Linked DNA regions of Homo sapiens: all the other regions are linked to region 2. Evidence: promoter capture Hi-C in 16 types of primary human blood cells and fetal thymus (Javierre and others, 2016). All regions are on one chromosome and are shown on one strand. Each heading gives the region's core, a stretch centred on a gene start or on the middle of the fragment in contact. The rest is flanking DNA. Distances are from core to core; before and after follow the strand shown.

The links. Contacts are between HindIII fragments. The CHiCAGO score rates a contact against its expected background, and 5 or more counts as called.
Region 1: a contact is called between a fragment that was not itself captured here and the fragment with the promoter of CTSZ in region 2, in 1 of 17 cell types (non-activated CD4 T cells). The highest score is 5.5, in non-activated CD4 T cells.
Region 3: a contact is called between a fragment that was not itself captured here and the fragment with the promoter of CTSZ in region 2, in 4 of 17 cell types (total B cells, M0 macrophages, activated CD4 T cells and 1 more). The highest score is 7.0, in total B cells.
Region 4: a fragment that was not itself captured here is called in contact with the fragment with the promoter of CTSZ in region 2 in 1 of 17 cell types (total B cells); the score reaches 5.4 in total B cells.

The regions. Positions count from the first base shown.
Region 1 is chr20:59,216,386-59,222,816 of GRCh38, forward strand. The region is part of intron 4 of ZNF831 (zinc finger protein 831); the gene reads left to right. Among named protein-coding and RNA genes, the nearest start is that of ZNF831, 56 kb to the left of the region's middle. RefSeq lists a silencer at 6,207-6,276. The HindIII fragment of the contact is 1,197 bases long and covers 1,908-3,104 here.
Region 2 is chr20:59,005,442-59,012,547 of GRCh38, forward strand. It overlaps CTSZ (cathepsin Z), which reads right to left and starts at 1,813. Exons shown (of 6, transcript NM_001336.4): 1 at 1,545-1,813; 2 at 881-1,044. The coding sequence starts at 1,687. RefSeq lists enhancers at 1,065-1,876, 2,557-2,716, 2,737-2,846, 2,987-3,066 and a silencer at 1,497-2,096. The HindIII fragment of the contact is 2,129 bases long and covers 614-2,742 here.
Region 3 is chr20:58,867,215-58,874,183 of GRCh38, forward strand. LOC101927932 (a long non-coding RNA gene) reads right to left here. Exons shown (of 5, transcript NR_126334.1): 4 at 272-358. It also overlaps a transcript of GNAS not described here. Among named protein-coding and RNA genes, the nearest start is that of GNAS, 21 kb to the right of the region's middle. The HindIII fragment of the contact is 3,307 bases long and covers 3,090-6,396 here.
Region 4 is chr20:59,199,089-59,205,629 of GRCh38, forward strand. The region is part of intron 3 of ZNF831 (zinc finger protein 831); the gene reads left to right. Among named protein-coding and RNA genes, the nearest start is that of ZNF831, 39 kb to the left of the region's middle. The HindIII fragment of the contact is 1,943 bases long and covers 2,470-4,412 here.

The DNA.
Region 1 (6,431 bases), core at 1,256-3,755, 210 kb after region 2:
GAGTTTCGGAGGCAGCCTGAATCCCTGCATTTCTTATTGATTGATTGACTGAGATGGAGTTTCACTCTGTCGCCCAGGCTGGAGTGCAGTGGCGTGATCTCGGCTCACTGCAACCTCTGGCTCCCGGAAACCCTGCATTTCTAAGATTCTGGGACACTGATTGGGAGCCCATGGTGGGCATGCTGCCTGTGCCAGGAGGAAGTGGTACACACATGATAGAGAGATGGCCAGTGTGCCAGGGTGAGTGGGGGACAGGCACATGTGCAGTGGGGGCTCACAGGATGGAATGCGTGATAGACAGATGGCTAGTGTGCCAGGTGCATGGGGGACGGGCGCAGGTACAGTGGAGGCTCACAGGACAGGGCATCACCTGCAGGACTTCTCAGGCCTCAGTCGGGGCCTGAAATTTTTTTCCTGAGAACAACAGGATTATGCAGATAATCCCATTTAGGTTTTCTAAAGATCACTCTAGACACAGAGTGGAGCAAGAATTGGGGTAAATAGAGTGGGTATGAGGTGACTGATTAGAAGACCACTGACAGGTGGGGCACTTTTGTTCTTAAAAAAAAAAAACTTGGCAAAAGTGATGCTCCACCTAGAGGGGCAAAAAAGTTAATTATTAGTTTTTAATTACACGTGTAATCATGAATAATACTTAACACATAAAAATGCAATAGATAAGGCTGATGTTCAGTTTCACCACTACCCCATCCCAATACCATCCTCAGGTAAAATGACAGTTTGGAGTCTGGAGTACATCTGACAGATCTTCATCTCTGTGTGTGTGTGTGTGTGTGTGTGTGTGTGTGTAACACAGCAGCAGCACACTGCACATCTCATTGCACAACTTGCTCTTTTTACTCAAAAATGTTTTGTGGTTCCACACTGTGAAAACATGTAGCTCTGTCTCAACTTCCTGAGCAGGGACAGAGTCCCTCTGGGTGGGAATACTCTTATTTATGAAGCCATTCTCCTATTAACGAAGAGTTTGGTCATCACCAGTGTTTCACACTTGCATCATGCTCCTTGGACACACTGTTTATATCTCCTTAGCCCAGGCAGGGTTTGCTCTAGGGAATAACCAAGAAGAGAAATTGCTGGGTCTTTGAGTGTTGTGTTGCACATTTTTAATAGCCATTTTCAAATTGCTTCCCAGTTTATACCCCTACCAGTAGCATATTAAATACCTCTCTTTTCCTCCAGTTTATAAAACTTTTTCTTCTTTTCCCCTTGGATGAGTAAAAGATGCTACCTTCTATGCCTGTGGATGGGAGGGCCTTTCCAGCCCTCCTTGATTCTCACTAGGGGTCTGTTATCCATTCTGTCCGTGGAAGGCTGGCATTCTCTAGTAGAAAAAAAGAACATGGAGGGACGATAAGACTCGTTTATTTATTTATTTATTTTTTTAAATCACAGAGAAGTAAGTTTCTCTTGACCAGATGTTATGTCCACTGGGCACAATTTGATATTCTCACCAAATATTAATAGATGTGTTCCTCAGCAGAGGCACGATGGATCAGCCTGCTCTGGGGGGACTCTGTCACTGCAAAGGACATCAAGGCCTTCCTCTGTGCCCAGCCAATTCATTAGACCCAGTTAGCAATTTGCAAAAGAGATGAGTTGATCTGCAGGCTGCCAAGCCCCAGTGTTACTCAGCTACCTCCCAGAAAGCTCAGAGAAGCCCTGGCCTCCCAGGAGCCTGAGAGAGCAAATAGTAATATGTGAGGCTTTAGGCAGAGGCTGAGCAGAGTCATCATTCCTCATTATAAACAGAAGCCAGAGAGATGAATTTCTCAGCCCTTCCTGGGTTAGGGTGGGATTTGGGGCCATAGTCCAGACTCCCGGGATAAAATGAGAAGGCTCACAAAGCTGGGGCTCCCAATATGAGAGCAGTGTTTCTTTTTTCAAGCTTTTATTATTCCCAAACAGATTCCCTGGTTATCTTATTTTGAAATGTTGCTACTGGAGGCAGAACTTTAAACTCTGCATGCCTGTATTAGGAGGGACTCTTTGAGGTGTGAGGAAAAGAGGCTTGATTCAAATTGGCTTAGACAAACAAACAGAACCCAATTCATTATCTCACAGAACAGAGAGAATTGCTTCAAGCTCAGCTGGGTTCAGAGGCTCTGCAGGTGGGTGTGTTCGTCTCTCTCCATCTCTGGGCAGCTCTGGTCCTGCCCAGCTGTTCCATGCTTGTGTTAGCGTGACTGTTTTTTTTTTTTATATATATAACTGAGTCCCTAAACTCAATCTAACTGGCCTGGTTTGGTCATGTGGCTGTCCTTGACCCTGTCACTGGGGATGTTGAGCGGCCAGGTATGGGTCCTGCACCTGTCCATGTACTGAGGGTTGGGTTGGGGCCATCTTTTTGCTACAGCCATTAAGAGGAGGCCAAGGAGGGCAGATCACCTGTGGTCACGAGTTCAAGACCAGCCTGGGCAACATGGTGAAACCCCCTCTCTACTAAAAATATAAAAATTAGCCGGGTGTAGTGGCATGCACCTGTAGTCCCAGCTACTTGGGAGGCTGAGGTAAGAAAATTGCTTGAACCCAGGAGGTGGAGGTTGCAGTGAGCCAAGATCGCGCTACTACACTCCAGCCTAGGTGACAGAGTGAGACTCTGTCTCAAAATAAAAAATACAAAATAAAAAGAGTAAATGAGAGATGGTTCCCCCTAAAGAAGTGGGGGTCAGGCAAGTAATCACAGCAGATGTCCCCTCTTCCTCCATGCAGACATGGGGAAACCATCTTACTCATGGCTTAATGCAATTAGGTATGCATTTGTGAGCCACTGAGTGTCTTTTGAAGCCCCATGAGAGGAGAGGAACAGAAGATGGCTTGAGCCCTCACCTCAAGGAGGTTAGGAACCGGTTGGTGGACCAAGACACCTTTGTGAGACAGATGAGAGTCACGTGGCCTGAGGGTCCCAGGTAATTACTGGGGCCTGTTCTGTGCCAGGCAATGTGTGGGAGCAGGAAGAGAGGCAAACAAGAACATGACATGGCCCTTGTCCTTAGGGAGAGCCCAGTGTGGCAAGGGGAGCCGGCACAGACTGGTAAACAAGTCATTACAAATGCAGTGCGGTGAGCTCGCTGATATGATTAAGCTTCCAAATGAGGGATCCTGACAAGGCCTGCTGGAGCGGAGAGGGGAGAGTGTGCTAGCATAAACAGGAGCATAGCAGGGGGTGGGGCATGCTTCCGACGCTCACCCCAAAGGCTTCTCCATTCGGCCCCCCACTGCAGAAAGGAATGTCAGCAGGGCATGTGGGAGAACCGAAGGCCGTCACTCTTTATCATGCCTTCTTTCATCCCTCGATCATAAAGAATTTTTGCCATATACTCTAAACTGCTGGGAATGGAGCACTTAACTACTATGTACTTATTTATCTAAAATGCTAAGTGTTTCCCTTAGCAATCACTAATAGATTCCTGTAGAAACGGAGTGCCATGATTAGAATTCTGATGTCTGTGCCGACAGAAGGTGGGAAGGCAACAATAGGTAGTGCACTAATGATGGGTTCAGTGGGCAGGTGGGTGGGTAGGACGATATAGTCATTGAAGGAGAAGGTTGAAATATGGGCATTTTAAAGATAAATATGTGTTTATGTTAAAAGTTGAGAGAGAGAAAAGAGGAGAGGGAGGGAGAGAAACTCTCATACCTTCAATCCCACACCTGAAATGGGGACGGTTCTGCTTTTGAAAGACTTTCTGAAAACCGTTCTCATATTTGAGTTGGAAGACCCCCTTCTCAGCAGAGGGCCACAAATGAATCCTGAGTTTTGTTCTGGAATTTTCCTATGCAACGTGCTGGAACCAGTAGCCAAATAGAATCAGTGGATGAGGCAGGAAGAAAAATGAGGATCTCAGGGATGGAACTCAACAGGCTACAAATGGGACACAAAAGGCAAGACTCACTCTCAACAAAATCACGGAGGCACCAGGTGCGCCTTGCGGGGTCTGTTTCCCCGACACCCACCTGCTGCCTGGTCTTCACAAGGGGCCAGGCCCTTTTGGTTTGGAGGCAGATGAGCCTGTAGGATTAATTCTAACTAAGGTGTGAGTGGAACCTAGGGGAGAAGTAACTTTAGGGGCTACAGAGAGAAACCTTCAGTGACACTGACTCATAATGGGAAGGTGATTCTCCTCTCAACTCCCTCTCCAGCCTCTTGATCATGCCATGGAGAAAGTCTTGTTTTGATTCCATCTTTAACACTTGCCTAAACCCCTTCCTAACCTCCCTTTTAATCAGAGAGAAAGAGGTTAGGTCTCAACATCTAGCTAGAATTTGAGAACACAATTCTGTTTTTATTGTTTTTTTTAAAGAAGAATCTGCTCCTTCTGATGCCAGACACTCCAAAGTCTCCTCAACCACCTTACTCCATTAACCTTGGAAAGCCTAACGTTTCCCTTTCTCTCTCAGCCTCCTTTGAGGCCAAGGCTGGTACAGGATAAATAATTTTGCTTTCTGGATTTAGAGGAATTGGTTTGAGTCTTGACTTTTACTAGTTCTTTGGGCAAAATTTGTTCCTTCTCATTGTCTCAGGTCCTCATCTGTAGAATGGGGCTGGAGTTTCTGAGTCCATAATTCATTTAATCTGGTGCCCAAGAACCCCATGAAGCCTGTCCAGGAATACCTGACTCATTTGCCCTTGAGATTGAGGAGAGGCTCAAGTTACATGAGACAGTGACTGTGAAAGTGCTGTGTGAACTACAAAGGACTTTACAGTGTGTGGTTATCATGGCTGGGAGGTGGCAGGGGTGAGCATACACTGAATTTTCCCCCCAGGTCTGGACAAGACGTCTTCAAGCCAAAGGAGGGAGGCAGTGAATGGTGCAGGTCCATACTTTCCCCAGCAGGGAGCTCGTAGGGATTCGGGAGTACATTCTGGGCCCTTGAGTTTGTGCTACATGCATGCCTATGGTGCTCTTCCTGCCGGGGTGAGACTTGCCCTCCAGGTTGAGAAAATGACGAAACTGGAATAATCCTCCAAGCTCCAACTCGTCCCAGAGGCCTCCCTGGCAATACTGTGCTCTTGTAGGGACCCCATCGTCCTCTAGGTAAATAGTTCACACTGGCCCTCACCCCACTGCTGGCTGCTGGCAGGGAGCATGGGGAATCTGCTCCAAAAACAACCATTGCTTCCTGCAGTAGCATTTTGAGAGTTTCCTCCAAATGTTTTTCCTCATCTAATTTTCAGTATGGCCCCGTGGGGTCAGGAGGTGATGTGTGGCCAGCCCTGTCCTAATTAGGAGTCTTGCCCAAGTTCATACGTTGAGGAAAAGAAATGCAAGCTCAGTTCCAAGGTTTTTCCCTTGCTAAAACTCTTAAAATTTTGGCTTGCTTATTTCCTTAACTTCCAAAGGACATGAACAAGTGATTTTTGTACCACCCTCCACATAGACATTAGCGATCATTTTCAGTCATTTTCAGCTTTCCGGTTTTGCTAGGAGGCACCTGGCGTGCCGGGAACGGACAAAAGCCATTTTTCTAAGTACTAGCGTTTGAAATTATTAAGTGTTCGTTAAGCACCCCCGGGTGCAAAGCACTCTCAGAGATGTTTATTTCTCAATTTTCCATAATTTCCTTATTTTTTTTCCCCTACCTAAAGGCAGATTGAAAAATGAACTCAGTGCATTGGAGTCTGAATCATAGTTAATGTGCGACGCCCCCTCCCTTAACTGCGCTGTTTTCTTTCTGCCTCCTCCTGTCTCCCAGCTTATCAATCTGATAAAGTTCTTTTTAACCCCTACTCAGGGGCTGTAACTTTTGCTTTATTCCCACGGGCATGGCAGGAAGCGATCAACGCAGAGCCCCGAACCCCACTCGCCCCACGGGCTGGGCTGAGCTGGGCTGGGGGTCGAGCTCAGCGAAGCCTCGGGAAGGCTGCAGGGTGCCCGGGCGGGCGGCGGGGTGGGTGCGGACCCCTGGCTGGGCGCTCCCGAGACCCCCCTACCCTGGTGGGTGGGCGCCCGGGGGCCTGGAGAGCCGCCTAGCCACGTGGATGCTTCTGGAAGAACACAAAGCCCGGGCCCCCTCCGCCCCCGCCGGCGCCAAGCCTCAATCTTGCAGGAGCAGAGAAGAAAGGCTCTGTTTTTCTCTCTCTCTTTTTTTTTTTTTGTGTGACAACAACCTCACATAACCTCAAAAGTTACCCATGAATTTACCAAAACTTTTTATGAAACTATTTTAACCTCTGGTGGGGGTTAAAAAACAAGCCTTGTGAATTTATTACCCGGAAGAAAGCGCAGAGGGCTGGGATTTACAGCAAAGCCGCCTTCCAAGCTCCGCGGGGGCCCCCTAGCGCCCATCGCGGGCACCGCCGAAGCCCGGCTCCCTCCTCGCTCCGCGGCGCAGCACGGCCTGGAGTCCGGTCTGGGAGGGAGGCGGGCGGACCCCAGACTCGTGCAATCAGGGGCACCTGCTCTGAA
Region 2 (7,106 bases), core at 563-3,062:
ATTGAGGAGGCGTCAGTGAGATGGAGCACACGCAAACGCATGTCCCCCAGCCTTGGCCCACAGCGGCAGCCACACTGTAGTCTATCCTTTTCACATGGGTGTACAGCAGGCCTGACCCATGAGGACCAAGGCCAGGGAAGAGGCAACAGCACCACAGTGCTCATGGGCCAAACTCCCAGGCCACGCAAGTCCCATCTCCAGGGGAAATCCAGGCTCCTGGACCCTGTGCTGTGACTGGAGAGGGGATAGCAGAGTCCCTTCCAAATGCTGTGGGGTGGGCCTGGGGCTGGTTTGCAGCTGTCCCTTCTCCCGCCTTCTCTCCCAAAGCAGGGTGCAGCAGCCTCGTTGATAGGGAGGGCCTTAGTTTCCCCTTCCTCTTTGCTAAGAGCCTCCCTACCCTACTCCTGCCAAAAGCCTAAGATAGAAACCCACCAGGCTGGAGGTAGTGACCAGGTTAGGCCATGGGCTGTAGCCAACTAGCCTCACCCAATATTCCAAGCCCAGGACAGGCTTTCATCTGTGCTGAGAAGCAGTTTACTTCTGTATCCTCAAATACAGCCTGGGGACTCAGTGATTTTGCATTTCTGTTTCTATCCCAATGGCTGAGGTCACAAGCTTTGGGGGAGAGAGGGCACCTGGCAGCCACTTGTCACTGGGATTCAGTCCTAGTCCTGCCTGTCACCCAAAAGCCCCAGAATGACCCAGCTTGGGTCACCTCAGCAGAGGGCAAAGGCCCGCGCTCCTCGGCCTTAGCACCCCAGCCCAGGCTGACCTGGCCTTGAATCACAGGCCCCTGGAACCGCGGGCTGAGCTGCCTGGGCCTATAAACAGGCAGCCGGGATGGGCTTTCCTGGCCCACAGTCAAAGGGCGGCCACTCACCCGCCATAGCGCTGGTGCTGGCGTGGGCCCAGCAGGAGCCGCAGTATTGGGGGATGTGCTGGTTCCGGGTGATGCTGGCATAGTTGACACCATCCACATTGCGCCAGTCCCAGCTCTTGGGCAGATCCGCTGGGGACAGGTACTCATGAGGCCGGGGGTATGTGCTGAGAAGAGATCATCCCCACCCAGATCGGTGCTGGGGCTCCCGGGGGCCGTGGGCCCAGGAAGCCCTCGGTAGGGCCCTCCCGCCTTTCCCAACACCTGAGGGCATGGGAGTGGGGCCACAATCACCAGAGGTGAGCCAGGTGTGGGCCCACCTCACACTAGGAGGCTCCAGCGCTCTCAGAATGTGAAGGAGGCAGGGCACCCCCGAAAGGAGGGAACCGGGTTGCTCCCCCAGCCATGCCGCGCCGTAAGGGCCACCCCCAGAGGCCGAGGAGGTGGGGCTGGCCTGGCTTTCTGGCCAGGTGGGGCTTGTCCAACCCCACAAACATCAGGGCTCACCCTGGATGTGGAAGAGAAGGAGCGACCCCCAAAACGAAGCGGCTGGATCTGACCTTCCAAGGCCTGTTGGCGACGCAGGGCCCCCAGGAGGCAGAGCGCGCGCCTGGCCCGGGCGATGGGCCTCCCGTCCCCCCAGGGCTGCCTCCCCGCCGGTGCCCACCTGCGCCCCAGCGGAGCCAGCCCGTCCCCCCGCAGAGGCCGGTAGCAGGTCTGTCCCCGGCGGAAGTAGAGGCCGCCCTGCGCCGCGCCCGCCAGCAGCACGAGCAGCAGAAGCGGCCGCCACCCTGGCCCGCGCCTCGCCATGGCCCCGCGCCGGCTCCTGGGTCCCGCTCCGGATCCCGCTCCGAGTCCCAGATCCCGCGCCGGCTCCCGCTCTGGATCCCGCCCCGGCCTCGGCCTCGGCCCAGCACCCGGCCGACCCCGCACTTTGGGCCCCTGCCCCGCCCGGCCCTTAAGGCTGCGGCGGCCAGGCCGGGACACTCCCCCGGGGCGGGGCTGTCCCATCGCTGCTCCTGCCCCGCCCGGTGACCCCTGCCCTCCCCGCCCGGCTCCGCGCCCCGCTCCCTCCCTGGCTCCGGGGCACCTGAACTCGCGGGCCAGGCGCGAGGTCGCCGGGCAGACCCCAGCCTGACCCCGCCGCCGGCCGCCGCCCTGAGCGCGGGACTGTCCGGCTGGACTCATTTGCCGGGGTTCCTGGCTTCGGGGTGGGGGGCCGCAGGCTCATGGGCCCCCTTGGCCCTGCATTCCTGGGGCCCTGAGCCCTGGGGAGAGGCCCCCAGCCTCACATCTGGGCCCAGGCCTCCCCTAGGAAGGGATCCTGGGATGCGGCCACCGCCCCCAAAGAAGGGTCCCCGCGCCTGGCTTTCTAAACCCCTTTTCCCAAAGGCCCAGGCCCTTTCGGGGGGACGGTTCCCTTTTGCAGAGAAGGAAGGAGGGATCCTTCTAGAAAATGCCCCAAAGGAAGATTCCACTTGGCGCAGGCATCAGGAGTTATCCAATGTGACTTCCAAAGACGCCTTGAAAAGGTTTTCTGCTAACGAAACTCTTCTTAGTCAAATGAGGAACCAAAAGCAGAAGTGGCCCCCCAGGACGTGGTTTTGTAACTGGGGGAGGGCTTCTCGCTCCCTGCGGCCCCTCTGTTTGTCATGGCCCTTGGGCCCACACCATGGCCTTCTTCTCTGGTAAGAACAGGGCCCGGCATTCTGGGCTGCGACCTGACAGGCCCCTGCTGGGGGCCCTTGGCACAGGGCCCACAGATGAGCTTGCCTGACTCTCTCCATACTCAGTGGCACTCACCACATTCCAAGCGTGCCACGTGGGCAAGGGGAAGTCACAGTGGCTGCCTCCTGACTTCCAGAAGCTTCCATGACCATTCCCGGAAGCGCTGAGGTGGCCATGGAATCCCCGCATGACTGTCCGAGTGGAGAGCAAGGCTGGAGAGCTGCTTCGTCAGCCCAGAAGTTTCAGTCCTTGTTCCCCAAAAAGTGGTCACTGAGGCAAAGTGTGGCCCCGGGGCTCTACCTACTGATGTGTCTCTTATTTGTTTGGCAAGTCGCTCATGGAAACCATTAGTGTCCATCAGTCATCAGAAGGCGGGGTGGGGTGGCCATCCTGGGAGAAGTCCCCAAGCTTGAGCTGGCGGTGGGGGTGGGAGCGAGGCCTCCCAACCTCTGGGCATAAAAGGAGTGGAAAGAGAATTGCCAAGAGGGGGCCTTTCTTCCTCCCATGTCAACCCTCTGGCCTCCCTGACTATAGGAGCTGGGTCCTTGTGAGGAAGAAACCCAGACACAGCTGCCCTTGCCAGGTCATCAGGTGGCATCTACCAAAGCGGCCGGTTTTTGGCTTCTTCTAAAGAAAAAGCTAAGAACTCACAAAATTGTGTGGTAAGAGATATCGTGCCCCTCCCTCCAGGTACCCATAGTTATGATCCAGGTACTGTGAAGTCCAACAGCACATTCTACAGCATGAGAAACAAGCCTGGAGAGGGGAGGGCCCCTTGTGCTTGGCCTCTGATGCCTGAGCTGTGATGTCCTGGGCCCTGGTCCCTGAATCTGGGTGAAAAGGCACCCAAGGTGTAAGCTTTTCTTTCCTGTAGCATGGGGAGAGCTGGGGTGCTCTGAAGATGCCCCGAGACTCTCCGAGCAGGTCCAGCGCATGTAGAAGGTATGACAGGCATGGTCAGCAAGGCAGGCACACGACCCCTGCAGTCACATGAGGCCCTAAGTCCAGAAGTGTAATGCAGAGCTGAACGAGGGGCTCTCCAGGTTCACTGTGCCCTGGGCCCTGCAAATTATGTAGCTGGGTCTGATGACAGCAACCACACCTGCTCCATCACAAGTCCTGTACATCACCCGCTTTCAGCCCAGAGCCTCTGGCAAATCAAACTCACAAACAGGGGTCAGGAGGAGGGGTGAGATGGTCAGGAAGGGGAATAAACATTCACAGTCCTGCTCCCAAATGCTGGCACAAAGCTTAATTTATCTGGGGAGTTCCAAAGAGGAGACTCTCCGGATTTACCCTATTGAAAGTTGGTTAAAGGGAAGGATATTTTTAGGCTGGTAACAAAAAGGACGTCCAAAGTTGACAACTTGTGCCCCCTGGGTTTCCCTAACATAGAAGCAATTCAAGATCAGAATCTGATGGAATAGGGCAGGAAGAGAGGGAGGGAGCCTATCCATTTGAAATCATCATTTACTTTTTCTTTTCTTTTTTTTTTTTTGGAGACAGAGTCTCGCTCTGTCACCTGGGCTGGAGTGCAATGGAGCAATATCGGCTCACTGCAACCTCCACCTCCTGGGTTCACGCAATTCTCCTGCCTCAGCCTCCTGAGTAGCTGGGATTACAGGCACACACCATCACACCTGGCTAAGTTTTTGTATTTTTAGTAGAGATAGGGTTTCACTACGTTGGCCAGACTGGTCTCGAGCTTCTGACCCCGTGATCCTGCCGCCTCGGCCTCCCAAAGTGCTGGGATTACAGGTGTGAGCCACCGCGCCTGGTCTGAAATCATCATTTTCAAGCCAAGAAGGAAGGAAGGGGGCCTGATGAGACTTATCTCTCCAGCCTCTTCTCATGGGTCCAACACAGCAAACCACGCAGAGACAGGGCTCCTCATCTCTGAACCTGGCCCTAGTCGAGTGGATGCATGTCTGGCTGCCAGACTGCTCCGAGAAGCTGGCGGGCTGTGTCATTTTGGGGGTTACTAAAATCGTGCAGCAGAGGATCCTAAATAGGATTTTTGGTTTTCTTGGTTTTGGGGTTTTTGTTGGTTGTTTTTGTTTTTCCCTTAACTCGATGCAAGATCTTAAACATGTTCCTTGTGGGGGCGGGGTTGGGGATGGCCACAAACCCACCCAAACTCAAATTCCAGTGCTGCTATTAGTGAAGGATGTTTAGCTGGAGGAGTTCTCTGAAGGGCACACAGATAAAACCAGGAGGTGTCTGGGACTGGAAAAAGAGGAGGGAGCACATTGGGAACCTGATAGACAGGCCACCCCAGCCATTTCTTGCTGGGGACTGCTTGCTGGGGGTTGAGTTTAGCCCCAGAGCTGTGTCTCTCTCTTCAAAGCAGACTCACCTGCAGAGCAGCTTGGGGACTCTTGGAAACCGGAAAGGTGTTTCCTCCTGACTTGGCTGCAGGTGCCTGCAAGGTGGTTTTGTGGATACTGACTCTTCTTCTCATCTGGGCCGGGATCCGAAGAGGCTTGGGGCAGGGCACTTGGACCTTCCTACCTCTGAGGCCCTACTTGCCTAAGCATTGCTTCTAGCAGCTCTTTATAAGCAGCTGTGTGCCACCGCCTTCCAGCTTGGGGCAGAATTGAGTAGGTATTTAGAGCAAGGCGTCTCCCCTGAAACCACTTTGCCTGGAAAGCTTGGCACCTATCCTGGGTTTTCCTTCCTGGAGGTAATGGAGTCATTCCTGCTCCCAGTGGTGCTTGAGGGCAGAGGGCTGAGCCAATGACATTCTAGAGGACTGTGCAGCCGCATTTGATCCTTTGCACAATGCTGTGAGGTGGGGGTGGGGGTTGGGAGGCAGATGCTATTACTCCATTCTACTGGCGAAAAGACTGAGCCTCTGGAGATGTCAGGTGACCTGTGCTCAGCACGAGGCTCCTGGGTGGCAGGTTCCAATCCAGTCCCTTTTTTTTTTTTTTTTTTTAACCCCATGAATTCTCCTGGAAAACACATGATCCAAGGCCACAGACACAAAAGCCTATTCATTTCTAAAAATAAGGCTGATTTTTCTCCTCATTCTGATAAAGATCAGCACTCAGGCCACGGCTGGCCCACCTTCCCAACCTGGAGGAGGAGAACACAGATGAGTTTTCATCGACTGTGGAATGGCCTCGAAATCCTTTTTCTTCTTCCTTTGTGCCATATTGTCTGGCTTCCACCCCGGCAAGCTGCAGACATTTCCTATTATTCCACATTCCTGAGTTTAGCCACATCCTGGATACCGGCATTTGTTTGGGTGGATGCCGACAATGCTCGCTAGGCTAGGCTGGTTTTGCAGGGCACGACGGTTCCCTCACCAGCTACAGGAGTTCCTCTTGATCCACTTGGTCAACGGGTCAGAGGCACTCGCTAACACCCAGATATCTCTGCAGTGCAGGCCTTCAGATAGGGCGGGCCAGGTTTGCAATCCACCATGCCACTGTCCCCAAGCACCACCATGCATCACATCCTGGCCTGGTTGTGTTATGGGAAAGGGGATCCCAACCCAGATCCCAAGAGAGGGTTCTTGGACCTCACGCAAGAAGGAATTCGGGGAAAGTCCATAAAGTGAAAGCAAGTTTATTAAGAAAGCAAAGGAATAAAAGAATAGCTCCTCCACAGGCAGAGCGGCAGCACGGGGTGCTCAGCTATTTATAGTTACTGTTACTTCTTCATTATACACTGAACAAGGAGTGGATCATTCATGAGTTTTTTGGAAAGGGGTGGGCAATTCCAGGAACTGAGGGTTCCCCCGCTTTGTAGACCATACAGGGTAACTTCCTGATGCTGCTGTGGCATCTGTAAACTGTCATGGTGCTGGTAGGAGTGTCTCTTAGCATGCTAATGCATTATAATTATCATATAATCAGCACTGAGGACAACCAGAGGTCACTTTCATCGCCATCTTGGGTTTGGTGGGTTTTGGCTGCCTTCTTTATCACATCCTTTTATCAGCAAGGTTTTTTGTTTGTTTTTGTTTTTTGAGACAGAGTTTCGCTCTTGTTACCCAGGCTGGAGGGCAATGGCACAATCTTGGCTCACTGCAACCTCTGCCTCTTGGGGTCAAGTGATTCTCCTGCCTTAGCCTCCCGAGTAGCTGGGATTACAGGTGCCTGCCACCATGCGTGGCTACTTTTTTGGCTTTTTTTAGTAGAGACGGGGTTTCACCATGTTGGCCAGGCTGGTCTTGAACTCCTGACCTCAGGCGATCCACCCGCCTCAGCCTCCCAAAGTGCTAGTATTACAGGCCTGAGCCACCGTGCCTGGCCTATTGGCAAGGTCTTGGTGACCTGTACCTTGTGCCGACCTCCTATCTCATCCTGTGATGTAGAATGTCTAACCTCCAAGGAATGCAGCCCAGGAGGTCTCAGCCTTATTTTACCCAGTCTGTATTCAAGATGGAGTCGCTCTGGTTCAAACGCCTCTGACAGTTGCACAGTGACTGGTGGTGCACACTTGCTTGGGAGTGGATGTGGCTCCTTGGGCTGACATTGATGAAGGCAGCCTC
Region 3 (6,969 bases), core at 3,493-5,992, 140 kb before region 2:
GCCAGACGTTAGGGGAAAATTTTTAAAAGTTGGATTGCCAGAAAACTTCTAGCTATTTATAATTAAGCATTTTTAGCTGCTAAAAGGAAGCACATTAGATCATTTTGTTTTGCAAAACAAATGGCCAGTGTGGGTTTTAGGATGGACACTCCCAGGAGGGCTCCCCTTTCTGAGTGGGAGTCTTTGGAAATGTTCCTGATGGGATCCAGTCATTCTGGAGCGCTCTTACGAAATCGTTCATCCTAGGGCAGTTTGGTGTTTGTGAGCTTACAGCGTTTACTCCTTGCTGTCTTCTACCATAGGTCTGATCTGATGGGGGAGGCAGTGGGCAGAGGAGCTCCAGCTCTTTGGGAGGGTCCTAGAATAGTACAAACAGCACTGGGTTAGAAGTTGGGGGTTCTCATTCCTGGGACCTTGGTTGATTATAGAACTTTATTCTAGGATTCCATGAATTTGCCAAGCTGACATCGGGAAAAGGCTAAAGTTTGATTCTTGAAAGTATTGACAAGGCCCCATTTAGGAATGATTCTGCCAAGTATTCCTGGGGTCCTGCCATGGTCAGGAGAGCACCTTAAATTTGATGAGTTGTCAGGGAAGAAGCAGAGGGTATCTCTGTGTTCAGCTTTATGTATGAGAAAGTCAAGACACAAGATGGGGGCAGGACAGGGACAGCTTGAGAAAGGAGGCTTGAGATTGAGACTTGGAACTCAGGTGCCAGGGATGAATCCAAAAGGCTTGCAGGCATCTCAGCCTCAGACTTAAGCTAACATATAGCAGATAGTGGACACCTCTCCTGTTTCTTTCTTTCTTTTTTTTTTTTTTTTGAGATGGAGTCTTGCTCTGTCACCCAGGCTGGAGTGAAGTGGCATGATCTTGGCTCACTGCAACCTCCACCTCCCAGGTTCAAGCAATTCTCCTGCCTCAGCTTCCTGAGTAGCTGGTACTACAGGCGCACGCCACCACACATAGCTAATTATGTATTTTTAGTAGTGATGGGGTTCTCCATGTTGGTCAGGCTGGTCTCAAACTCCCGATCTCAGGTGATCCCCCTGCCTCAGCCTCCCAAAGTGCTGGGATTACAGGCGTGAGCCACCGTGCCCTGCCAATATTTGTCTTTTTAGTAGAGATGGGGTTTCACCATGTTAGCCAGGCTGGTCTCCAACTCCTGACTTCAGATGATCCGCCCACCTTGGCCTCCCAAAGTGCTGGGATTACAGGCGTGAACCACCGCAGCCAGCTTTTTTTTTTTTTCTGGCCCTGCAATCTTGATTCCCCAGAGTTAGGGTCTGATTTCAGATGTTAAGGCAGGCTCAAAGTGGGGCATCTGCTCGCCACAAGAAGGTGAGAGGTCAGAAAGAAGAAGCAAGACCATTAGGGCTGCCTTAGTTGAAGAAAGGGGGCTCATCTCTCATTTTCTCAGAAGTTTCACAATCCAGAAAGGGGAGAACGGAAAGCAGCCTCCTAAGGAGTTCTCGAATTTCTTTCTCACTTTTCCTTTGTTTTCTCGCTCTCTCACTCTCTTCTAAGATTTATTTTTAAATGGGGTTCTTATTTTGGGGGGACTTTCTGAGCAGGAACTACCTTTTTTTTGGAGGGAAATAAATGAGAACACAAATTATTCAGGGCTGGGAAGTGGAAACAATGAAAGAAAGCAAGGCTACTCAGAACCGGCTGGCAGATGGCGCTCGGCTTTTACGATTGACAGCCTGGCTTTCAAAAATTCACCCTTGCGCCGGCGCCTAAGGCAGAACCCGCATCCCCCTCCCTAAATCCTCCTTCCCAAGGACACGGCCCCTGCCCCTAAGGCTGAGGAATGTTTTTAAAAGGTTTCAGTTGAGCAATTGACATCTAAGGACAAATCCCGGCAACTTTTAACGAGTGGATCTGAAGATCTTAGCCAAGGCAGGAAAGCACACGATCAGGTAACCTCCAGATTCACCGCCCTGGTGCCCCGGTTCTCCTGGGAACTGGTCCTGAGATCTTGGACAAATCCCTGGTTCTAGTTTTTCTCAATTGAAAAAACAGGAGGGATGTCTTTCTCACTTTAAAACTTATTTAATTATCTTATAAAGTTTCAATAGATGAGGTATGCCAACCCCCTATCCAACACAAATTTTTTTAAATGTCTGTTCCAAAATGGCAGATTGTATAGGAAATCAAATGGTAGGGCCCTCTGTTGTCCTTTGGTAAATAATTAATAGTTTCTGGGTCCCAATCACCGGGAGAATCTTTGTGGGAGCAGAGTTTGGTGGTAAACTCTTTCACACCTCAATCAAGGGCTAGAAAAGAGGTTCATAGGTGAGCAGAGCTCCAGTTTCCACCAGGGAAATCTAAGGGGCCTACCTGGAGAAGTTAGCATTTAAGACAATATGGAGAGATGAAGTAGAATTTGAGGTGCATGGTCAATGATTGTTTACAGAGAAGGGACTTGCTAGGGATACATCATTGCTTTTCCATTCATGCAAGTATCATTGTGTTTTTCAGGATCTCTGAGACCTCAGGGCTAGTTTTAAGTTCTTCCCCTCCTCAACCCCTCTCCACTTCTCAGTGCTTCACGGCACACTGGGGCATTCTCACTAGCGAAGGTGTCCTCTCTAAGGATGGGACCCCTACTGTCCATCTCAGGCTCAGCACTGCCTTGGGGCAGGCCACTTCTGGCTTCTTTAGGCCTCGTTTCCACGGGAGGGGAAGCTGGGTCCGATGGTGTCTGGGTCAAATTCCTTGGTTCCAAGAACAGGTACCGTTGCCATTCCCTTCCATTTCTGCCCCCTGCACCACCCCACCCAGCAGCTGGAAAATGATGAGGTCATCTATTTGAGAAGGGCCACACAGGCCTCCCACACAAGGACCTACAAAGTCCTCCAATGGGAATTTATTTCTTTCTGATCAAATTTACCCTCCATACCCCATTCATATACACATTCTTTCTCCCCTCTCTCTTAAGATTGTAAAGTTAAAGAAACTGAATACACAGGGTTGATTTAAGGTAAACGTCCCTCCCACCCATCTATTTAAAAAATTTTCTTTTACTTGATAACTTTCCTACAACATGATTCTCTTATGCCCATATTCCTCTGAGGATTCTTTAAAGCTTTTCTTGCACTTTCTCCTCCTCACAGTCCCTGACTTCTAGCCCTGAGTGGTGGCTGAGGGCAGGTGACCCTGTAGACCGTGGGGAACAGAGGAGGCCAGGGCAGGTGGCTGCCTCTTTCCAACCTTTCCTGGGCCATGGGAGCTCCTCCCCACCAGAGGTCAGCAGAGAGCTCAGAATGGCTGGGTCTGCTCTCAGAAATTGGGATCTTGGAATTCTCTAGATGAAATGTAGGATGCCCAAATGGAAAAAAAGCCCCATGTTTCCAGGGTGTTTTGGTTGGGGCTCTCATCCTGTCTTGGGTCCCGGGGACCTTACTTTTAACACCAATACAGCCATTCTGTGCTTTTCTCAGGGGAGGGGTGGTTGGGGGTTTGGTCTGTTTATTTGGTGGCTTTCTTGGTCAGTCTTCTCCCTGCGCCAGACGCACAAATCCCTCCCTTAGAGGGAACCACACCCTCTTAGAACTCTCCCTTCTGGGGCCCAACTGCCCACTTTCGCTTCCCACATGACATGGAACCCACATCCCACACTTGGCCGGGCGCCTTTTCTTCTAGTTGTATTTATTGTTAAAATGACATCATAATATTACAGGAAATCCCCCCAGCCTACCCTCACCCTGCTGTGATTTTACTGATCATTATCTCCCCCTGTTCTTTACTCAGGTGTATGCATAGTTTTGAGAGGGCATGAATCATGGTGTGCAGTTTCATATTAATCCCCCTGCTCCACAAACACACACTACAGGACAGTTTCCTTAGAGCTCTTCCATGTTCGCCATCGTCCTTCCACAGTTCTTTCACTTGTTCAGTCCTTTCGCTAGCGGGGAAGAGCAGGGAAAGAATTGAGGTTCCCTCCCTTTGTTTTTCCTTCTCTGATCTTTTGAAATCCCGGGGTCCTTGTGAACGACTCAGAAATTAAAACCAATTCCCTTTGGCCAGTTGTTTATTGTTGAAAGAGAGAGACAAAGAGAAATTAAGGTGCAAACGGAAGGAAAGAAGTAAATAGAGATTAAATTTAAAAATTTGAAAGGGAGCAGTGGTTCACGCCTGTAATCCCAGCACTTTGGGAGGCCGAGGTGGGCAGATCACCTGAGGTCAGGAGTTCAAGACCAGCCTGACTAACATGGAGAAACATCATCTCTACTAAAAATACAAAATTAGCTGGGCATGGTGGCGCATGCCTGTAATTCTAGCTACTCGGGAGGCTGAGACAGGAGAATCGCTTGAACCCGGGAGGCAGGGTTTGCAGTGAGCCGAGATTGTGCCATTGCACTCCATCCTGGGCAACAAGAATGATACTCCGTCGAAAAAAAAAAAAAAAACAAACAACAAAAAAAAAACCAAAAAAATTAAAAGGGAGAGAGAGGAGGAAAAAAGAGGGAAAGGAAAGAGAGAAGGAAGGAAGAAGGAAGGGAGGGAGGAGGGAGGGGGAGAAAAGAAAAGAAAGGAAAAGAAAAAAGAGAAGAAAAGAAAAAAGAAAAGAGTGCCTTTGCCAAGTTTAGCTCTAAGCACCAAATGGGGTCCTTGCCCTCTAGGAACTTCTAGTCCAGAACAGAGGAGAGGATCAGGTTGCAAGTGATTATCCTTCTACCAGGCAGGGGGTGGAGCGCTGCCAAGGAGGGTGTGGCTGGCACAGCTGAGGGGCCAGGCTGGCTAGACCGGACAGGAGTACGGGGAGGAGAGGCAGGTTCACAATCCAGGCTGGGGCATCCTCTCCTCCCCATCTCACTGCCCCATGAGGTCCCTTGTTCGTTCAAGTGCCAACCAGAAGAGCTGGGACAGAGGCCTCTCTTGTGTGCCAAGACGGGGGCCACCACCACCCTCTGAGCTCTGACCACTGCCCTCTCACCTCTTATTGCTTTCCCAAGTGTTTACCTCCTGATTCTAAAACGATGGTCCAATTTTTGTTTTATTTTAAAGTTAGGAACACACTGCATGTAGCACACTTCATGGAGCACAAGTGTTTTCACATGCCTTATCCCACTAAGTGGTTTTGTTTTGTTTTAGAAAGTCTGGCACACAGAGAACCTTCTAGTTCTTTAAAAAAAAAAATCATAAATTTTTAAATTTGATAATTATCCAGAACAAAACAAAGCAAACCCTAAGGTTAAAAGTGAGCATCCTATAAGTTAAGTATAGATCTTTGATGTTGGGGAAACCTTTGAATTTTACAAATCGATGTCCTTGAGAATTGGGTTCCAGCCAGACCCACTGTAGGCATTGTTTTCTTTTTTTCTTTTTCCTTCCTTCCTCCCTTCCTTCCTTTCTTCCTCCCATTCCCCCTCCCCACTTTGAAAAACAAGTTTTATTCTCTTGGGTTATGTTCATTAGAGAGGGAAGACAATTCTGTTCAGCAAGGAAAGGTGAGGGGAAGAGAAAAGGGGGGAATTCAGCCAGAGGAGAACAGGGACAAGGTTGATTGCTCTGTGCTGGGGTGAGGGTGGGGGGCAGAGAGAGAACATCACAGCCAGATGCAAATCACAAGAGCAGACCTTCAGCTTCCTGGCATTGGTGGGGAAAATATTCCGTCAGCTGCCTTTCTATGTCCTGGGCTTCATTCATCAGCTCAAGAGAAAAAAAATAAAATCAAAATTTCATCCTAATTTGTTGTGGTTGGACCCCATTCTCCCACATTTTGGCCTTCTTGTAAAGCACAACCACAAAGGCAGAAGTGGCTTCCTGGGCTGACCTGCCTCTCAGTTCATTCTCAAGGCGTTAGCCTCATCCCATCAGGAGGAGTTCAGACTCTCCCCAAGCACCAAGAGTTAGAAATGTGTTGCTAATTGATTTGAGCTAAATTTGTGTTGCTTTGAGACTTAGCAAAATGGCTGATTAGGGGCCAGTGTTGGGGAAAATAATTGCTGATCTAATAGCTATGAAAAGGAACTCATTCACAAATATGTTTATAAAATGGGCCTTCTGTGACATTTTGGAATTGTCAGGGAGTTAGGGGTCACGGTGGTTCTTCAGGAAGAAAGAAATGTTGTTGGGAAATGTTTAGTGGAAATTTAGCATAAAATGACATGCCTAATTTAAGAAAACAGTTAAATCCATCATGGTTCCAAGTGAAAACAGTTGTCACAAATTAATTTTTCAAATGTTTGACTATTGGCAGGTCTGAGGTTTACTCATCTGTAGGTTATGTCCAACTTGGCAAAAGCATGGAATCCTGCCCAGTCCTTGGTACACAGGGACTAGCACATGTACCCATTTTTTCTCACTGATAAGTTATTTCCTAATTTTTTGGTTAACTTGAAGGTCGAAATAGCCTTACTCCTTTTTGTCTGTCTAGTAGCATCTCTAAGCTTGCAGTAGCTGCTCACGTGTCTGCCACGCCCCTTAGAAGGACGAATCCTTGCCTGGTCGGTGAGTTTGCCTCAATTCGGGCATTTTCATTTGTTCATTCATTCGATATACATGTATTGAGTGCCAAATATGTGCCCTTCCCCGTGGGGAAGACAAAAGTATGAGACACTGCTACTCCCTTGATGGAATCAAAACAAACCCAGGAAGTTAACAAGAGTGGGCAGTCTCTGCTAAGCGATTACACAGGGAATAAATAAGGAAAGATGGAAAGATTGTCAACCAAAAGACTTCAACAACCTGCTAAGAGTCTTCCAGCCCAGTTGAGCACACCAAATCAGAGGTTACCTAAAAGTGTCATGAGTGCTGATAATTAAACTGCAGAAAACCTAGAAGGATCTGCTGGGGTCAAAACAAGCAACATTTGACAGGCACAGCCATTCAGATTTTCATGCCACTCTGAGGCTGAAAATTTCTGCACAAACAGCAGTGACTGAACCTTTGCTAGTCACAGGATAGACCTCCCTGTTGATAGGGTAGACCTCCCTGTTGATAACTTGTCAGTCATGGGAC
Region 4 (6,541 bases), core at 2,191-4,690, 200 kb after region 2:
ATCTATCTATCTATCTATCTATCTATCTATCTATCTATCTATCTATCACGTAACCCTTGTGTTCTCTCCTCAAGAAGGAAGCCTACTTCTTGATTCATTTTCCCACTTTAATTTCAGTTGTCTTAATGTTCTACAGAAAATGAAATACTGTAGCAGAGATTGCTCTATAGTCCTTAGCTCACAGAGAATGATACAGTTCTCTTCTAAGTAAAATATTACCTTAAATGTTATATAACAATATATAGAAAAGAAAAATTTAAAAGATTATTATGTTGTTTTATGTATTTGGCACAAATCATATCAATCTGTGTTTTCATACTTTGCAAATCACCAATAATATATAATATTGTTTGGTGTCTTTAAAGTACACATAAAAGTATCATAGTTATTTATCATTTATCATTCTTCAGCTTGATTTTTAAGGTCAACATTGTGTTTTTGAAGATCTCATCGTGTCAGGACATACTGATCAAATTCATTCATTCTGATTGCTGTAGAGTGTCTCATCCATGAGTAAGAGTTTGCCCTTCATTCATATGCTTCCTAATATTTGTTGTTATCAGATTTTTTAAGTGATGAATATAATTTATAGGATTCTATATATATCCTAGATTTGTATGTATTATTTGCCTGTTATATATACTGCAAATATGTTTCCAAGTCTATTACTTGTCTTTTTAAGCCCCTTTATTTATATGTACCCACATAATTGCCCATCTCTTGTCTTTTCATTTGTTTCTGCATGTCAGATCTTCCTTCTGGGATTATTTTCTTCTACCTAAATCATATTCTTTAGAATTTCCTTTATTAGAGAAGGAAATTCTCTTAGTTTTTATTACTCTGCAAATATATTTATTTCATCATTGTTGTTGAAAAATAGTTTGCTGGGTACACAATTCTAGGTTGACTGTTATTTTCTCAGCACATCAAAGCTACCATTGCACTATCTGTCAGCTTCCATTTTGTGGTAAAGAAAGCCAGCTGTTAGACTACTCATCTGTCTTTTGAAAGTCTTTTATCTCTGGCTACCTTTAAGATCTTCTTTTATCCTTTGGTGTTCCATAGTTTTACTTTGATGTATATAGATGTATGTTGCTTTTTATTTGTTCCATTAGGAATCCACAGGGCTATTTTGATTTGTGGATTGGTGTCTCTCTGTAAAAAATTCTTAGCCATCATTCTCCAAATATTGCCTCTGTCCTGTTCCCTCTCCTTCCTTTCTGAAATACTGAAATAATATATATTAGTCCTTTTCTATCTTTCATGTCTTTTAATACTTTTAATAACCTTGTTTCTCTGTGCTATAATCTGGATACTTTGTTCAAATCTGTCTTTAAAATTTTACCAGTTTTTAAATCTACTATTTTTTGTAAAGCTTTATTAAAGTATAATTAAATTTTAATAAATTGCACATATTTAAAACATACAATTAAATAAATTTTGACATATATATATACCTGTGAAACAATATAACCAGGATCATGAACATATCTGTCAAGCCCAAAAGTTTCCTCCTATCCTTTTGTAATTCCTCCCTTCTGCCCGTCCTGAAGTCCTTCCATCCCCAGGTAACCGCTGATGTGCTTTCTGTCACATAGGATAGTTTGCCTTTTCTAGAATTTTATAGAAACAGAATCATACAATATATGCTCTCTTTTTTTTGCCTGGCTTTATTCACTCAGTATTACTATTTTGAGGTTCATCCATGTTGTGTTTATCAAGAACACATTCCTTCTTATTGCTAACTAGTATGCCATTGAGTGAGTATGTCACAATTTGTATACATGTTCACTTGTTGATAGACATTTGGTTTGTTTCAGTTTGGGGCTATTACAAATAAAATGACTATAAATATTCATATGCAAACCTTTGTATGGACATATGCTTTAAATTATCTTGGGAAAATACCTAGAGGTGAAAAGCCTGGATCATATGGTAGATGTATTATTAACTTTTAAAGAAGCTGCCAAATTGTTTTCCAAAGTGGTTGTATTATTTTACATCTCCACTATCAGAGTATGAGAGTTCCATTTCTCTACATTATTGCCAACACTTGGTATGGTAATTTTTTTTAGTTTTAGTCATTTGAATAGTTATGTAGTGGTATCTCTTTATAGCTTGAATTTGCATTTCCCTAACAAGTGATGATATTCAGCATCTTTTTTTGTGTGCTTATTTAGCATTTGTATATCTTCTCTGGCGAAGTGTCTCTTCAAATCTTTTGCGCATCAAAAATGGGTTGTTTTCTTATTGAGTTTTGAGAATTTTTTTAATATACTCTGATTATAAGTTCCTTATCGGAGATGTGATTTGTAACTATTTTCTTTCAATCTATGGCTTATCTTTCTATTCTTTTAGTAGCATCTTTTAAAAAGCAACTGTCTTTCACTTTGATGATATTTAATTTACCTTTTTTTGTTATGTTTTTAGTGTCATAGTTTAAAAAAGTGTGTCTAAACAGAGCTTCAAAGCTTTTCTTCTAAATTTTTCTCTAAAGTTTTATACTTTTAAGTTTTATATTTAGGTCTATAATTCATTTTCACTTAGTGTTTACATATGGTGTGATGTATGGATCGAAGTTCTTATTTTTGTGTGTGGATATCTTATCTAGTTGTTCCAGCATCATTTGTTGATCTATTTGTCTATTTCAATGCAAATACCACACTGACTTGATTACGCCGCTTGACTCTGAGACTTATTATAAAGCTAAAGTATTCCAAAGAGTGTGGTTTTTGCATCAAAATGGATACAAAGATCAATGGAGCAAAATAGAGAATACAGAAATAGACCATGCTGTGGTCAATTGATTTTTCATACAGGCTCAAAGGAAATTCAGCGGAAAAAGTATAGTCTTTTCAACAAATGGTTCCAGACCTGGAAAATTTCTCCATCAATAAGTTGAGGTGTCATCAGGCTTACCTCATCTGTTTCTCTTCTTTCATGGATCACTGCCTTTATTGCTCAATGTCCAATGCCCTGAACACTATTGTTTTGTATCTTTATTCAGTTTTTTACTTGGGATGGTAAATCTGGTTACTTTTGCAAAGTCTTGGTCAGAAGTCCCTGGCCTATTGCAGTGCCTCCTAGTTGATCTCCCCTACTTTTATTGGTCTGCTAAAGTTTAAGTTCAATTGTTGATGTGAATTATATTTTATTTCCAAAAAGTTTTATTTAATTATTTTTTTAATTTGCTTGATCATTTTATAGTCTCTTGCACTTGACTCTTATTTTCAACCTTTTTTTTTTTTTTTAAAAAAAAAAACACATCTAATGTTTTGCATCTGACAATGACAACCTATGAAGTCTTGGCACATCTGACTCTGTTTTATATATTTGCTCTCACATATGTTAACTTATTTCCTTGTTTGTGTTAAAATTTTTGACTGTGAGTTGATATTTTTGGAACTTTGAGATGTGGGTTGAAGGTGGATTCCTCCAATAAATATTTGTTTTGCTTCCACTGGGTGCCTGGGGGTGCTCGTTTGTTTGTTGTTATGTTCCCCGGGCAGGTGGTGGGGTAGGGAGTATTTATTTCTAATTCACCCACATACTGAGAGTATGCCTTTCAGAGGTCTCAGCTTTATGCAGGAAAGGAGGTTGGGTCTTCCATGTGCCTCTCACTGAAGAACATTCTGGGCTTTGAGTCCTGTACCCTCAGCTGCACCAGAGCATGAAAATAGGAAGGTCATCCTCATCTGGTTTGGCAGATTCCTCAAAGTGAAAGCAATCTCACTTTTCCAGGGCGCAGCTCTCACTTGGTTTTTGCCTTTGAACTATTTCTTATCTTTTAATCAGAACATACGTAAATTTAAATATAAGTTTAAAAAATGTTTACATTTTACGCTGCATTTTTAATTGTTTTCAGTATAAGGATAAATTTGGTGGTAATCAGTCAGAGTATTGAGTCCACTGTGCTGTTGGAAATGGAGTTCTTATTTTTTAACCTTGATAATGATGGTTTTTTCATTAAGAATTTGTAAATTTTGATGTAGTCAAATGGGGCTGTCTTTTCATGACTTTTTGGTATATCTAAGAAATCTTTCTTTACTCTCAATTTCCTACTTTCAAAAATATGCAGATATGTTATCTTATGTTTTCTTCTTGTATGAATTCATATATATAGAAGGATTTATTTTTATTTTTGTTTATAAAGACAACTATGGACCACGGGTTAAATATGGTTTTTAACTTATTTTAACCATGAGCAACGCATTATTTATATACATATATATTTGATCGACAGGGTCTCACTATGTTGCCCAGGCTGCAGGGCAGTGGCTATTCACAGGTGTGATCATAGCACACCACAGCCTCACACTCCTGGCCTCAGTGGTCTTCCTGCCTCAGCTTCTGGAGTAGCTGGGAGTACAGGCATGCACCACCATGCCTGGCTTGGTTTTTATATTTTTAAAAGCTTATCCATATAAAAACAGAAGAAGAATACGTGGCACAGATTGTCTGTGGCATACAAAGTCTAAAATATTTATTAGCTGGACCTTTGCATAAAAATCAAGCAGACCCCTGCATTAATCCACTTTTGCCCACTTACATGTTAAATTTTAGCTTCCCGTTTATACTTGAAGTTTTTTTCAGGGCCTTTCATTCTGCTTTCATTCATCTCTATGTTTTTTGCCAACTGCAAATACCACACTGTAATGAAAATGGTTGTTTTCATTAACAAAACTACATGAGTTAAAGAAGAGAGATTAGAAAATGCAGGATCCACTTCCAGAGTGGAAATGGAAAAACGCAGAAAATTCATACTCAGAAGCCTAATTGCCCTGACATTAACTAGAGGCATAGAGATCCGGAGCACTCACAAAATACCTCCCTGCCTTGCCCAAAGCAAGCGCGGGATCATGGAATTAGATTTTATTGATTAATTTATAACTGTGTACTGTGCTGTATGAAGCATGAAACATTCAGAGACTTGTTCCTAGGAAGCTTCCAACAAATGGAACAATGAATTGTGAAGCCCCAAGTGAATGGAAATGAGCGAGGAGAAGATTGCAGGTTGTATGGGAGAAGGGCACTCTATAAAACCCTAAAATATACATTAGTCGTTGAAGGGGAGAGTGGAGAAGAAAAAAATCCTGGGCTTTGAGAATGCAATTCTATTAGCAGATAGTGTTTTTCCTTATGGAGCGGATGTTTATCTGTCTAAGCCATGTGTCTATTCACTTTAGTCATCACACAATTTACTTATTCAATGAGATAGCACTCTCAGTAATGAGAGCACAATCTCTGCAGTGAGGTAAAGACAAAGACCTACAGATGTGGCCCTGAGTCCACGTGGCCTCTGCTGCATGTGACCCCCACCACATGTGGCTGAGACTCTTTGTCACGTTGGCCACAGCCCCAGAGCTTTGACAGCAGTCCCAGGTCCTGCTTAGCAGGATACAGAGGCTCTGCCATCCACACCTCCACTGCTCTTCTCTTTGCTTTGTTCTTCTCTGTGGGGTCAAGAGAGGAAAGTGAGGGAAATAGCACGTCAGATCTCATAGTTTCGCCCCAGAAAGGAATGTGTGTGGAGTGGGCTGTGTACACCTGCAAGAGCCACTCCTTGGGTCTACTGTCCTTCCCTGAGAGAGCCTGACAAAGGTGGCAAGGGGGTGACGAGTGTATCACCCTCACAGCCGGGTGCGGAGGTGCAGCCTGACGAAAGTGTCCTGGATGGGGCCCCAACAGCACTGGCCACACCTTGAGGGGACTTGCATGGCTGGTGATGGAGATGAGCTTGCAAAACCTTCCTAAGCCAGGATGCTGCTTCTCCAGGAGGGGCTGCACACAGAACGTTTTGGGAGAACCAGGAGAGAGAGAAACGTACCCTGCCCATGACTAAACTAAACAGTCCTTTGAAGACATTGCCAAGGTCCACTTGGGCTGTTCTCGAAGGCAAAAAGTTTGAAATTCCACCTTGATGAAGTGCGAATTCAGAGGCGGGGCCTTTCCTAGCTCTCTCCTTGTTATTTTGCGTGAGGAGAAAGACCCCCGCTTGCTAATTTTCTGAAAGTAAAACCTCCCTGCAGTTCAAACTGTGCCGTTCTTAACACCTGCAAGTGTGTGGCAGCCACCCACTGACTTGCGCAAAGGTGACCCAGCAGCAGGTGGAAGAAGAATTCTCTCCATGTGCCACCCCTTCCTTCCTCCCTTTGTCTCTGCACTTTGAAATCTCTCTCCACCCAGGCCCTGCAGGATTTGGTTCAGGGGTTTGTCGCTCCCCACCCTGGCTCAGATAGCTCTTTCAGGAACCTGTGTTCTTGACAACTGCTTCAAAGAACAAACCAGCCACCACTGCCTCCCCCACCAAACTAACCTCCCCTCCCCCCAGCCGGGGAATGACAGCTCCTGCCCCAGACAGGGGAGGCAATCATGCCCAGTTGAGGGGAGCTTCTCCCAAACACAGAGGCCGGAAAAGATGAACAAAATGTCACTTTCTCATTGTTGCTGCCAGGAAAAACCAGTGCCCAAGAGGATACTGCATTCTGTAGATCTTATTTAAAATTTTGTGAGCGGCCCTGGTGATTAGGGGACTGCGGCT